Linked DNA regions of Homo sapiens: all the other regions are linked to region 1. Evidence: promoter capture Hi-C in 16 types of primary human blood cells and fetal thymus (Javierre and others, 2016). All regions are on one chromosome and are shown on one strand. The core of a region is centred on a gene start or on the middle of the fragment in contact, and the rest is flanking DNA. Distances in the headings are between cores, read along the strand shown. Region 1 holds the start of ARSK (arylsulfatase family member K). Region 2 overlaps ARRDC3 (arrestin domain containing 3). Region 3 overlaps CHD1 (chromodomain helicase DNA binding protein 1).

Evidence for each region. The method cuts DNA at HindIII sites, captures the fragments that hold promoters and counts their contacts. A CHiCAGO score of 5 or more calls a contact.
Region 2: a contact is called between a fragment that was not itself captured here and the fragment with the promoter of ARSK in region 1, in 1 of 17 cell types (fetal thymus). The highest score is 6.2, in fetal thymus.
Region 3: a fragment that was not itself captured here is called in contact with the fragment with the promoter of ARSK in region 1 in 1 of 17 cell types (fetal thymus); the score reaches 5.6 in fetal thymus.

The regions. Positions count from the first base shown.
Region 1 is chr5:95,552,432-95,557,055 of GRCh38, forward strand. It overlaps ARSK (arylsulfatase family member K), which reads left to right and starts at 2,670. Exons shown (of 8, transcript NM_198150.3): 1 at 2,670-2,973. The coding sequence starts at 2,848. SKIC3 (SKI3 subunit of superkiller complex) reads right to left here and starts at 2,546. Exons shown (of 43, transcript NM_014639.4): 1 at 2,505-2,546. The HindIII fragment of the contact is 6,579 bases long and covers 1-2,745 here.
Region 2 is chr5:91,374,037-91,378,660 of GRCh38, forward strand. It overlaps ARRDC3 (arrestin domain containing 3), which reads right to left. Exons shown (of 8, transcript NM_020801.4): 3 at 2,585-2,732; 4 at 1,475-1,577; 5 at 886-1,142; 6 at 78-240. Among named protein-coding and RNA genes, the nearest start is that of ARRDC3-AS1, 4.0 kb to the right of the region's middle. The HindIII fragment of the contact is 4,797 bases long and covers 52-4,624 here.
Region 3 is chr5:98,918,492-98,923,115 of GRCh38, forward strand. All of the region lies in intron 2 of CHD1 (chromodomain helicase DNA binding protein 1), which reads right to left. Among named protein-coding and RNA genes, the nearest start is that of CHD1-DT, 7.8 kb to the right of the region's middle. The HindIII fragment of the contact is 2,275 bases long and covers 1,518-3,792 here.

The DNA of each region.
Region 1 (4,624 bases), core at 1,420-3,919:
GCTTCTTATATACCCAACACTTACTGGATAATACATATTCAATAAATAGCTAATGATCTTCCAGCTTCCAAGGCTTACCAGTGTTAACAAAAAAATGAGTGACTGAGGGAAGTGTCTCAATCAGTAGATGTTTATTGAGCCACACTTTGAGCACACGCCTGGGGAAAAACAAGCCACAGAAGCATCTGTGACCCACACTTTCCAAAGAGGGCTTTCGGAACTCAGTATTCTAGAGGAGAGCATGCAGGAGTGAAAAATGGCGGGAGGGAAGTAGGCAGTGAGGCAAATGGTTACATTCTCTTGAGTACCTTTTCTGATAGCATAGAATTACTGATTAGCAAAAATGTTGTACGTTCACAAAAGAGTAATCAAAACAATGAGGAAACCTGAAATTATGAGAACTAGCTGAAGAAACTGGGGACTAGGAAAAATAAATAAATGGTGGCGAGGGAGTTGGGGGAAGGACTGTTGAAAGGGAGAGATTATCCATGTAAAAGTGAAGAAAAATGCACTAATGAATGGTTAAAAATAGAGGAAGATTAACTTCAACTTAAAATAGGAACTTTTAATGAGACCTATATAAATGTGGAATGAGGTACTCAATGGAAGTGTTTCCCATCACTGGAGATGAAAAAGCACAGGCTGGACAATCCACTCAGCAGGAATGTTTTAGGATAAACTGAATGTCAGATGGGAAGTAGGACTAGAAGCCTCTTAGATTCTTCCAGCACAACGTCTCTAAGGCTCTAAAATATCTGTCTTGCTCCAAATCACTGCAGCACCTGCTCCTATTGACACTGCCAAGGGGAGAAAGAAGAAAAAGATGTATTCTTGTAAGCCTGTCATCAGAGTACATGTCCTGTGGAAACAAGGCTGTAGAGAGTAAGCACAGTTTATGGAATCAGACACAAAATTAAATATAACTTTTATGAATTTAAATGTCAGTCAATATTGTCACTATGGTAGAAAATACGTTCTACATTCCAAATTAACTCAAAACAAATTTGTTTTTATGAGAGAGCCCACTTGTATTACCTTCCGTGCTGTATTATTATTTCATGTATGCTTGGTTTTGCTTCCCTGAAATCTAAACTCATGTAAACTGAGACTATTGTTTAGGGGTTTTTTTGTTTTTGTTTTTTTTTTGAGATGGAGTTTTGCTCTTGTTGCCCAGGCGGAGTGCAAAGGTGCGATCTCAGCTCACTGCAACCTCCACCTCCTGGGTTCAAGTGATTCTCCTGCCTCAGCCTCCCTAGTAGCTGGGATTACAGGCGCCCGCCACCACGCCCAGTATTTTGCGTATTTTTCGTAGAGACGGGGTTTCACCATGCTGGCCAGGCTGGTCTCGAACCCCTAACCTTCGGTGATCCGCCCGTCTCGGCTTCCCAAAGTGCTGGGATTACAGGCGTGAGCCACCGCGCCCAACACTGTTTACGTTTTTGCATGCTCCCGCAGATCTTTATCATGCTGCTTGAGTAACAATTCTGCTACACTAACAGATAAACTAACTGCAGACAGAGCATTTAGTGAGTTACGGCACAGACTCTTCAATTTTCAGTCGTGCTCTGACTGGCTCCCTGTGTAAACTCAGGCCAGTCATTTAACCTCTCTAAGCCTGTTTTCCTATCTGCAATATGGTGAAAGTGAGGATTATAGAAAATATTCCATATAAAAGTACGTGGCACGCAGCAGATGCTCAGTAAATGCTTAGTATAACGCTCAGCACCTAAGTGCCATGTGAGTATTAAATAAACAAATCTGTTCCTTACTACAATTATCTTAGGCAAAAAAAAACCTGCCAGATATTAGTATTCAGTTGACTTAAGTAAGTAGTATAACTCCTCTTTTAACTGTCAGAATATTAAAACTACTAGTGTGATGTGCAAATTATATACCCGAAACTAGATACAGAAATTGGAATTTGGCTTTGGGACAGAAATCTGCTTCTTCCAGAACTCTCCAAAGGAATTCAACAGTCAAAAGAGACCGGTTTTTATTCTGCAGCAAAACAATGATATTCTGAACCTACGTCAACTAACTGAACATGTCACACAGCCCATTTCCCCCTCCAGTTTCGCTTATCTCCTTTGCTCTCTGAAGGCAAGGAACAGCTATGCTTTCCCCTGCCTACAGCCTGAAACTTCTTACTAGGCCCCGCTCCTCGCCCCATGGGAGCACAGTAAATCCTGACTGCACGGGGTAAGAGAAGCAATAAGATGAGACAGGCTAGAGATTTCCCTGGGAAGGTATTCGGGGGGGTCTAAGGCATTCACGGCGCACCTGAGGCGGTCCACCCAGAGGCCCCACAAGGCACCGCCCTATTCAACTTAAGTGACAGCCGCGCCGCCACCTCATCGCCGCCCAGTTCACGCTCTCGCCGAACACTCAGCCACGCTTGCGCGGCCCAAAATGAACAGCCCCGGCCCCGATCCTTTCTTTCTCTAAGTACCATTTCAATCGCCTTTAGGATCCCTTGTGCAAAACCGACAGAAATCCAAACCCACCTGGAGCAGATGCTCCTCTTCTACAAACGCCGAGGCTGCAATGAGAGCGCATGCGCCTTTCCCAGGACTCATTCACGTGACTGGAAGTGGCTGGGTTCTGATTTGCTCGGTATTTGATTAAAAGGTCTTAACGTGGGTAAAAGCGGGAATTTCTCTGTTGCGCATGTGCGCGCTCTCCGCCTGATAGGAGTTGTAGTTCTGCGGGTGAAGCTCGGCGTTACTATCAAGCAACCAAACTGCAAGCTTTGGGAGTTGTTCGCTGTCCCTGCCCTGCTCTGCTAGGGAGAGAACGCCAGAGGGAGGCGGCTGGCCCGGCGGCAGGCTCTCAGAACCGCTACCGGCGATGCTACTGCTGTGGGTGTCGGTGGTCGCAGCCTTGGCGCTGGCGGTACTGGCCCCCGGAGCAGGGGAGCAGAGGCGGAGAGCAGCCAAAGCGCCCAATGTGGTGCTGGTCGTGAGCGACTCCTTCGTAAGTACCGCGAGGCAGGGGAGGGGCGCCCCGCTGGGGATCGGCGACCTCACCGCCGCCGCCTGTGCTGCAGGCTTTGGGGAGCAGAACCTGAGACATTTTCAAACACCTTTTACCCCGATGCAAAGAAAGAAATACATTTTATGTGAGGCCCCGTGTACTCACACGTACACCACATACCTATGCAAACATGTAAAACAATAGTGAAACACTGAAAACATCTTTGCAGATCTTTTTTTTTTAATACTGACCTCGATTCGCTAAATTATTTTACCACGACTAATGAACTTTCAGTCCATACCCCCGTTTGGTTTAATTGTGTGGTAAAATAACATTCTGCATCTCCATAAAAGCGTGTTAGCTTTCCAAAAGTCATTTTCCAGTTCACCTCAAGTTTGCAGGAATTCATGTTTGGGTGAGAAGTGAAGAAAGTTTATTTTTATTACCCAGGTCTGTGATAATCCTGTTAGTGCTGATTCAAATGGAATCGTTGGTATAACTTGATTCACTCCCCCGTATTCCAGAGAAATTGTGTGTATGTGTGTGTGTTGGTAATGTGGCTGAATCCCAAACTTAAACAGTTTTTGAAACTTTCCCAAGCCAAAGGTGCTACTGTCAACCTTACGCGATGCTTTTAGGATGATCCATGTTTTAAAAAGTGCTGCTTAGACAATTGTTTGGTTATTAATTGTAATATTAGTTTATTATCACTCGGTGTTACTGTGGTCACACAGATGTTGGTGTTAAGCATATCTGGCACTAAAGAGTGTTTGTAATCATATGTTGTATTTCCTTTCTCGTAGATTCCTGATGATTAAAATTACATAGTCTGGATGTGCCCATGGGATTTTTTGAAAATATTACTTAAAGTTATCTTTGTGATTTAAACTTAGAGAATGGGCAGTACTGGAAATTGACTAGATGGCATTTTATTACAGAGTGCTCTTGTAATCAAAGGCAAATGAAGGAAGCAGGATTGTGCAGAGGAGAAGCTGAATTTTGTTGCCATCTTATGAATGACAGTTCTCAAACTAGTATGGTGCTTCAGAGCTGCTTTCCAATAGGAGTGAGGAGAACAGACCTTTCCACCTGCATGTTGGATGGCCACTGGTTGTGGGCTGCTCCTAGAATGGGGCATGGTGTTGGGCAAAGCAGCTGTCTTCAGCAGAGGCAATTGTTCATTCCTAAAAGGGAATCCGAATGTGGATCACAACATCCCAGAAACTTCCAAAGATGACTGAGATATATAGGTTTGTTATTTTTTTTAGTGTAGTATGAATGCATAGATTTTTCTATATTTGTGCTTAAATTTTTTGCATTCACGGCCGGGCGCGGTGGCTCACGCCTGTAATCCCAGCACTTTGGGAGGCCGAGGTGGGCGGATCACGAGGTCAAGAGATCAAGACCATCCTGGCTAACACAGTGAAACCCCGTCTCTACTAAAAATACAAAAAAATTAGCCGGGCGTGGTTTCGGGCGCCTGTAGTCCCAGCTACTCGGGAGGCTGAAGCAGGAGAATGGCGTGAACCTGGGAGGCGGAGCTTGCAGTGACCTGATATCGCACCACTGCACTCCAGCCTGGGCGACGGAGCGAGAGTCCGTCTCGAAAAAAAAATAAAAATAAAAATAAAAAAATTTTTAAAAAATAAAA
Region 2 (4,624 bases), core at 1,200-3,699, 4.2 Mb before region 1:
ATAAAATATCAGAGGCAAAATAATTTTCTTGATAATAGTAGTAAGAGATTAAGCTTAGACGTGTATTATCAAATTACCTTCAGGTCTTTCAGGAAGTGATAAACTGAGCCAGTTCATATTCATGCTACACTGACTGCTTACACTTGAGGTTCTGCTACCAAATGGATGTAGAGGAATGGTACCGATGACAAGTGGCAAATTAAGAAATAAATCCATAGCTCCAGGAATATCCACATATACCTAAACATTGCAAAGAAATATTAAGTTTAGAATGCCAAGTATGATTTCCTTTTCAAAAACTCATAACCAATTTTAATGTTATTTGAAACCCCCATTTACTTCATTTTTAAACTTACATACATGAAAAGTTTCTCTTTTATGTATAATTCTGTATAGTACATTTACATATAAGGTATAATTGTAAGTCAAACTATATAAAGAGTTATGTATTTTATATGTCACTATATATGGAATTTAAAAAAATCAAATCCTGGATGTAAGACAAAACTATGTCATAACTTTAAGACTTAAAAACAAAACAAAAAAAAACACCAAAAACCTCTTGGGCCAGGCACTGTGGCTCATGCCTATAATTCCAACATTTTGGGAGGCCATGGTGGATGGATCACTTGAGCCCAGGAGTTCAAGACCAACCTGGGCGACATGGTCAAACTCCATCACTACAAAAAATACAAAAATTATCCAGGCATGGCTATAGGCACACCTGTAGTCCCAACTACTTGGGAGCTGAGGTGGGAGGATCACTGGAGCCCAGAAAGCAGAGGCTGTAGCGGAGCTGAGACTGTGCCACTGCATTCCAGCCTGGGTGACAGGTGTTTCAAAAAAGAAAAAAGAAAGGAAAAAACCTCTTAAATGTGTACATACCATTAGTGAATATTCCACGCGGATTATACTACAGTCGAGGATAGAGGGAGAAACTGGTGGAATTTTCAGCAACTTGCCATTCCACGTCTCTGTCTTTCCAGATGATAAGGATTCCCCACGCAAGTTAGCCACAAGCTGTTTTACTTCCTTCATTTTCCCTTTGGCATAGAAGGCCTGTGTTTGGTAAATGGCTGCCTTTGGCACCACCATTCGGGAAGAGCAGTTCTCAATCTCAGCAAATATCTGAATTGATTCACCTAGAGAGGGAAAAATATATACATATCTACTGTTAGAAAAAAACAACAAAAGAAGTCAAGATTCTTAAAGCTAAAGTAAGAAAGTGCAACTAACATACATGAAAAGATGTCCCAGGAACTGCAAATAACTTGAGTCATAGAAATGAACTAATCAGTAGCTATTTGAAAAAGGAAACTACATTCTACTTTGTGAAAAAAACAAATGGATAAGCACAATTTGTTATTTCACAAAAGAATACTATATTATGTTTATATTTAGTAGTCATATTATAAATTTAAACACAAAAGCTAAGTGAAGAAAAGTTTTTTGTGGGAATCTACCTCTTACATACCTGGGGTATAGCCCTTCCTTTCAATTTTGGCACTTAAGGATATTGGGCCTGAGGTACAGAACCAGCAACAGAGTGTCTTTTCTTTTGTGCCTGCTTGGGGTGACTGTAAGAAAAAAATTAAGAGAAAAAGGTCAGTGTATGGATTGGTACAATCAATACCAGAATATTTTAAAATATAACCCTAAATTTATGGAAAATTAAAAATTACAACTGGTTTTGCTTTTTTTTTGTATCCAGACATACTTCTTATTTTTTAACTAACCGATGGTTTTGAATTATACCATTACTTTTATTTTCATATAAATTTCCATTCAATTAGAAAAAAAAGGTAAAGGGTTTACAGCCTATCCCATAAACATAGTTTTTTAGCTCACACTATTTACAAATATAGTAATCAAAAACCAACCAAATAAAAAAAACCCTTTCCACATTCCATTTAAACTGCCTTAAAAAGGCAGCAAAGAAAGCAATCTGATTATAATTCCAAATGTTAACATCTTTCTCTGAGACTATTAAAAAATCAATATGTAAAAAAGGAAAATGCCCATTTCTTATGTGCTTTAAAGATGTTACCATTTGTTTAAATCAAATAAAGTTTTAAGTCAAATTTGAATTATTTTCAGACAAATGCAATTAAAAATAGATTTCTTTAAAAAAGGAGTTTTTTAATGAAACTAATGATTCCCCATTATTTGACAACTATCCCTCTATTGGAATAACAAAGTATAGTACAAATTTTAGATTATGATATTGTCAAGTAAGTGATATTGTATTATAATAAAAGATACTACTGCTCTTCTTCCACTCAAATCATCCAAGGACCAGATCTGTTTTTTGTTATGGCTGTCATACTCTGAGTAAGAGATACTTCATATCATATACTGGTCTTAGTTTTATATTTACTTAAAGGTATACTACAATGTCAAAAATATGAGCATATTTTTCATTAATTTCAGTGTTCTTGACTGTATTTAAGAAAATGTATATTTATGAAATTTTAAAAGAAAACCAGTATTTTTAAATTATGACAACTGCATAGTTTAGGTGATTGATTATTCTTTAATATTTATATGCCAAAAACAAAGAATAAATAATTCAGTCAATTCTTACCAGTAATGAAGGAGTGTTGATATCTATATGCTCAAAGACTGTAAATTCCTTCTTTAATTTTACTGGTAGTAGCCAAGGCCTGTGCAATTCGGCTTTCACCCAATAGCGCACACTGCCATGTCGGCCTTCGAATGAGGTAGCGAGTGGTCTGTGCAGAATATAAAGGTCAATATATTAATTTTATACCTCTTTCTAACAATTACACAGTAGGTCAGAATAGAAGTGTTAATATATTGTATTGTTTATGTTCCAATGAGGTATCAAACATATAATTTAAAAAATTTCCAAAGGGATAAGTCACTGGGGAAAAAACTTCCTATTTCCAACTAAGAATAAACAATAAATATCTTTAAAATTTTGCTTTAAAAAGCCAGAAGAATACAATCCATTTAAACTAAGAGGAGGCTACTTTTAATGATGGTGGCAAAATCATGAAAGTTTAATGGGCATTTTTTGAAAAGGCCAAGAATTCAAACACAAAGTTGAGAATGGTTTAACTATTTCTACTGATAAATTCTAGACACTGGTTAAACATTCAGACCAAATTCCCTATAGTACTCCACTTCTCATTAGCCGGGAATTATCATCTTTTAATAGCAACTAACTAAGGTCTAGAAAAGGCCTGGAATAGTCATTATAGTTTCAAAAATTTCACATTTCCTAAGTTTACTGAAAAACTACTTTTGTATCTCTCAGTTTACTCATGTTCTAATTCTTGTTTGGCTGTTCTCTAACTTTACGGGCTTCAAAAGAAAAAGATATAGTCCTCTTGATCTATGTCAAGAGAATAAAAAAAAATTTTTTTTAACTCTGTCAGATTTTACTTGTGGAAGGTTTTATTTTAGCAAGTTCAGTATCTTTTTCATAATTTCATTAGTAAAATACTCAATGTTCAGTTATTTACAAGAGTGCTAGCTTAGATTAGCATAAGAAACACTGGTGTTTTCATAATTTTTTTTTTTTTTTGCATTTTAGACTCCCACATTAACTTGTATAGCAGAGAAATAAAATCTTAAACTGTATGCTAATAGTTATCCAAAATTTATGTTAAATGACTTTGGTTTATGGATAGAACTTTAACATTAAATGACGCTGAAAATACTCAGGCCCCATATTGGCCTTATTCTATCAACAGACTTTAATATTTTTCTCAGAAATTAGATGAGGGCATTATATTCCAAATAAAATTCTCAAATAATACAGTAAATAGAATTTTCTAAAAAATACCATTTATGACTTCTCTCTCTATATATAACATCTCAAGCACTAGAATTAACAAATGCAGAATTAATGTACATTTGTCACCTGACAAAATCTTATGTAATCTGTTTATTCTCCAGAATAATCACCACAAGTGCCATTTTGCAGGTTTTAATATTTGTTAAAAGGCATTTTTTTTTAAAAAGTTTGTATCATCTCTTCCAACAATCTGTCATTACTTTAAGAATATACCACTTTCCTTTTTCCTTTCTTACTAGATTCCAAGTTTTATATTAATGTATCCTTGATGCATGTTTCCTTTTAAGCCTGGGTCATATCTCTTGTGTGACCTTCCCAATAGTTCTTTGTACAGAAGCTATTAAGTTCATATCAGAAGAAAAACATTTCTAAAGTTAGGATATTCCTAATTATTTTTATTTTCGAAACTTACTGCTATTGGTTAGTATTAGCAGAAAAAGTAGAATATAGAATTTTTTATAAATTGAAGCTACTAAGACTTGATAGGGTCTATCTTTTCTCATAATGATAATTGATAATAAACTAAGTATAAAGTGGTTATTATTCGACTAGCAACTTCCAATTCACTCATGTTAAAGGAAACCCTATTCCTATTTTAAAAACCTCATAAACTTTAGGAAAGAATACTGAAAATTGAGTATGCTTTCTATAATTTTGCCACGCTAGATTAAAAAATAGCTTCTTATGTTTAATATATTGTTTTCCTCTAGCAAGTTTCAGTAATGAAAAGGGTTTTTTTTTCAACTAAAAATGTTTAAATTTAGAATACTTAATTTTAAAATAATGCTCTGATCATAAGTA
Region 3 (4,624 bases), core at 1,405-3,904, 3.4 Mb after region 1:
GGGCGCGGGAGCTCACACCTGTAATCCCAGCACTTAGGGAGGCCAAGGCGGGCGGATCACGAGGTCAGGAGATCGAGACTATCCTGGCCAACATGGTGAAACCCCGTCTGTACGAAAAATACAAAAATTAGCTGGGCATGGTGACGCGTGCCTGTAATCACAGCTACTTGAGAGGCTGAGGCAGGAGAATCACTTGTTGGAGGATGCAGTGAGCCAAGATCACACCACAGCACTCCAGCCTGGCAACATAGCAAGACTCTTCAAAAAAAAAAAAAAACAAAAAAAAAAACTTCCTCTCCAACACCCTTCTGAATATATATCATTTGTTCTTTCTTTTCAAACTACATTTCTCATCATTATGAAAATTACAAAAGTTAAAGCATGCTATGAAAACTTTCCAAATAGCTCATTAAATGACTCTAGTAATCTACCCTCCATTTTCTTTTTACCTCACTTGCATGCCCATTTGGCCCCACAAATTTGAATATACTCAATTGCATATTTAAACTGGCTATTCCATTATCACCCCTAGATTATAATAATCTTTCTTGAAGTTAATGTATAACTTTACAACATGGCAAGATGCTGAATGACTACAGGTGAATAGCTTCATATACATGCATATGAATTTAACATGAATACAATTCTCCTGGGAATCTTATTAAAATGGAAATTCTGGCTCAGTAGATCTGGGACCTTTTAAGATGAAGGAATTGTTCTGTACATTACTGGAGTACAGAAAAAATGATTCTATGCACTTGTCAAAACCCAAAGAACTGTGCATCATTGAATAAGCATTAATATATGCAAATTTTAAAAATCAACCAGTATGATGATGATCACAGGATGGAATGCAGATTGTGACAAATGAATCTAATTTTATTATAAATTTATCACATAATTACACTCAAAGGGGTGAGAGAAAAATGAACTTGACCAACATCAGAAAACAGTGTTTTGACTAGAAACTTAAAGGCTAAATATTAAAGTGTACTGTATGTAAACACCGTATTTTAGTTGCGAAATTAGTTTCTCTTGATAAAGTATATCCTAAAAATTCTAAAACTGCTTTACATGTATATTATGAGTGAATATATAAGCAGATAAATGGTGGATGGTCAGAGCCAGGTTTCTCAATGTTGAGTAAGGAAGTTACAAAGCAATAAGAAAGAAAGGTTAGAATGAACCCTATAGCACAGGATTAGAGTTGGAGCCATCGGTATGAACTCACGTTTATGTATGAGATAATATGTATACAGACGTAAGGATACAGAAATGACTATAGATACGTAGGTATACATAATATATCTACATATATTACCTAGCTCTGTCTACTTTGTTCACTGAGAGGAAATAAAAGCAGTGACACTTGAATATCAACAAGCACACCCAGTACCCAAATCTTGGTTTCTAATGCCATTCTCCAAAAAAATGGAACCAAGGCTCCTTGGAGAGTGGCTGATTCTAGGGTAAAAGTAAGGCAGTGTGTAAAAGAAACATACGAGCCAACCTAAAAAAGCTTCCAAGAGCCAAGGCTAGATCAATTTAAGTAACAAAAAAGTCAACTATTATACAATAGATACATAAAATACCTATTATACATAAATATATACAAATATATATTTTATAGAGTTGTAATCCACTAAGCTGGATTACAACTCAAAGCACATACATAAATCCATACATATATAAACGATTTAGAAATTTCCTTACAGAAATTCCATTTAATATATGTAAATACTCCCCCCACCAGGAGATGGAATTTAATTCCTATCCCAACCCTCTTGAAAGTAGGCTAGACAAAATGACTTGCTTCCAAAGAATATATTATGGAAAGGGAAAAACAGTAACTTTACAGTAGAGAAACTTGCAAATACTACCTTGACCAAGTGAGAGGTTAACACCACCAGTAATGTCATGAGGATAACATGTTTCCCATATGATGTGACTAGCACACTTTATCTTTGTGGTATTCTTTCTAAAAACCAATAACCCTAGTTTATCCTAAGAACAATAGACAAGGCCAGGTGTGGTGGCTCACACACCTGTAATCCCAACACTCTGGGAGGCCAAGGTGGGTGGATTACCTGAGGTCAAGAGTTCAAGATCAGCCTGACCAACACAGAGAAACCCTGTCTCTACTAAAAATACAAAAATTAGCCAGGCATGGTGGTGCACACCTGTAGTCCCAGTCACTCGGGAGGCTGTGGCAGGAGAATCGTTTGAACCCAGGAGGCGGAGGTTGCAGTGAGGTGAGATCGTGCCATTGCACTCCAGCCTGGGCAACAGAGCAAGACGCCGTCTCAAAAAAAAAAAAAAAAAGACAAATCTAGATTTCAAAAACATTCTACAGGATACCTGGCCAGTATTTCTCAAGATGGTTTAGACCATGAAAACTAAGGAAAGACTTAGAAACTCTCACAGATGAAAGGAGACTGGGGAGACGTGACAACTAAATGCAATGTGGCACTCTGGATTTAATCCTACAACAGAAAAGAGGGAGTTAATGGAAAAATCAATGAAATCCAAGTATAGAGTTTAGGTAATAGTTTTTTAAAAAAGAATAAAAAAATAAATAAAATGGCTATAAATCTTGTTTCCCCATCTGGAAAGTGGGAATCATAACAATGTATACATCACAGAAGTTTTGTGAGGATGAACTGTGACAATTCAAGTAATGCACAATGCCCTATGTGCATCATGCTAGGTTAAGGCACAGCAAGAGCTCAACAATCATCAGTTGCCATTGTTACTGCTTCCGGAGAAACGAAACTTACCTAGCCTCTTGCTAGTCCTGCTCAAGACACAATTAATTGGAGGTTCGCAGAGAATGAAAACCATGTATAACAACATCAATAACAAAGTGGCAAGATGCTATGACTCCAGATGAATAGCTTCATATAAATGTATATGAACTTAATACATAAGAATCACTTAGAATCTTGTTAAAATGAAGATTCTGATTCAGTACGTCTGGGGCGAGGCACAAGGTTCTACAGTTATAATAAGCTCCCAAATGATGCCAACACCGCTGGTCCACGGACCACAACTGGTGCAACTTTTCTATTTCTGTAGTTTTAAATATTTCCCATTTTAAAAAAAGGTTAAACATTTTCTCCATTCATCATAAAGTAATACTCATTTTAAAACACAAAACTGCACCATATATAACCAATCAGTCATCAAGATCTTAAACAAGCAGCTACTTAAGCAGAGTAAAAGGGGTAACATCACATTAATGTTTGCCCACACATTATGACTACATACAGAAAAGTAATCTTTGAAAGGTAACTCATACACCATTCTGATCTTTAACCATATAGCCATTCCTGAAGTAAATCATCACTCAAGATAACTTATTTAAAACTAAAAAAAGTCAGCCAGGCGCAGTGGCTCATGCCTGTAATCCCAGCACTTTGGGAGGCCGAGGTGGGTGGATCACAAGGTCAGGAGTTCAAGACCACCAGCCTGGCCAACATGGTGAAATCCCATCTTTACTAAAAATACAAAAATTAGCGGGGCATGGTGGCGGGCACCTATAATCCCAGCTACTCAGGAGGCAGAGGCAGAAAACTGCCAGAACACAGGAGACGGAGGCTGCAGTGAGCCAAGATCGTGCTACTGCACTCCAGCCTGGGCAACAGTGAGACTCCATCTCAATTAAAAAAAAACAAACCACACACACACTAAAAAAAAGTCTACCAGGATTTGAAAAATTTGCTTGCAAATACCACCACAAATCCACACAGCTGCAAATTGATGCTTTGAAATCTTCCAGCATTATCTTTAAAAAGCTTAACTTCAGTTACATAAAACTTTGTGTTGAGCTGTAACTGTTATACAGGTGCATCCTGGCCCACATTTCTTAGTAACTAAATTTCAAGACTGTCAGCAATAGCATAGCAAAAGAGACATATTTTTCCTGTGTATTCTTCTTCCTTTCAGTGAATAGTTATAGAGAGATCTCCAGACAGAAAGAATAGTTAAAAATTTTTTTTTTCAGTAGAAAGCTAACTGTAACCTGCAAATGCCAAATGAATTCTTTCTTAATTCTATTCCGTTTAATAAACTTTCACAAAAGAAAAAGGAAATTTTGAAGCAAAAATACATTATAGAATTCTAGCCACTAAAAAACCAAAATTTACTTTAAAAAGCTACTTACAATGAATATCAACTTTAGAAACAAAGTATATTTCTAATCTAATTATATTAGGGGCCAGGCACGGTGGCTCATGCCTGTAATCCCCAGTGCTTTGGGAGGCCAAGGCGGGCAGATCACCTGAGGTCAGGAGTTCGAGACCAGCCTGGCCAACATGACGAAACACCGTCTCTGCTAAAAATACAAAAATTAGCTGGATGCAGTGGTGCATGCCTGTAGTCCCAGCTACTCGGGAGGCTGAGGCAGGAAAATTGCTTGAACTCGGTAGGCGGAGGATGCAGTGAGCCGAGGTCATACCGCTGCACTGCAGCCTGGGCGACAGAGCAAGACTCTGGCTCAAAAAAAAGAAAAAAAATTACTCTATATTAATATTCATAGTTATAGAAACTTTAGTTTTTTTTGCAAGAAAATCCCTCTACCTCTAAAGTTCACCTCCTCAGTCTTTTAACTAGGCACAATCTCCCT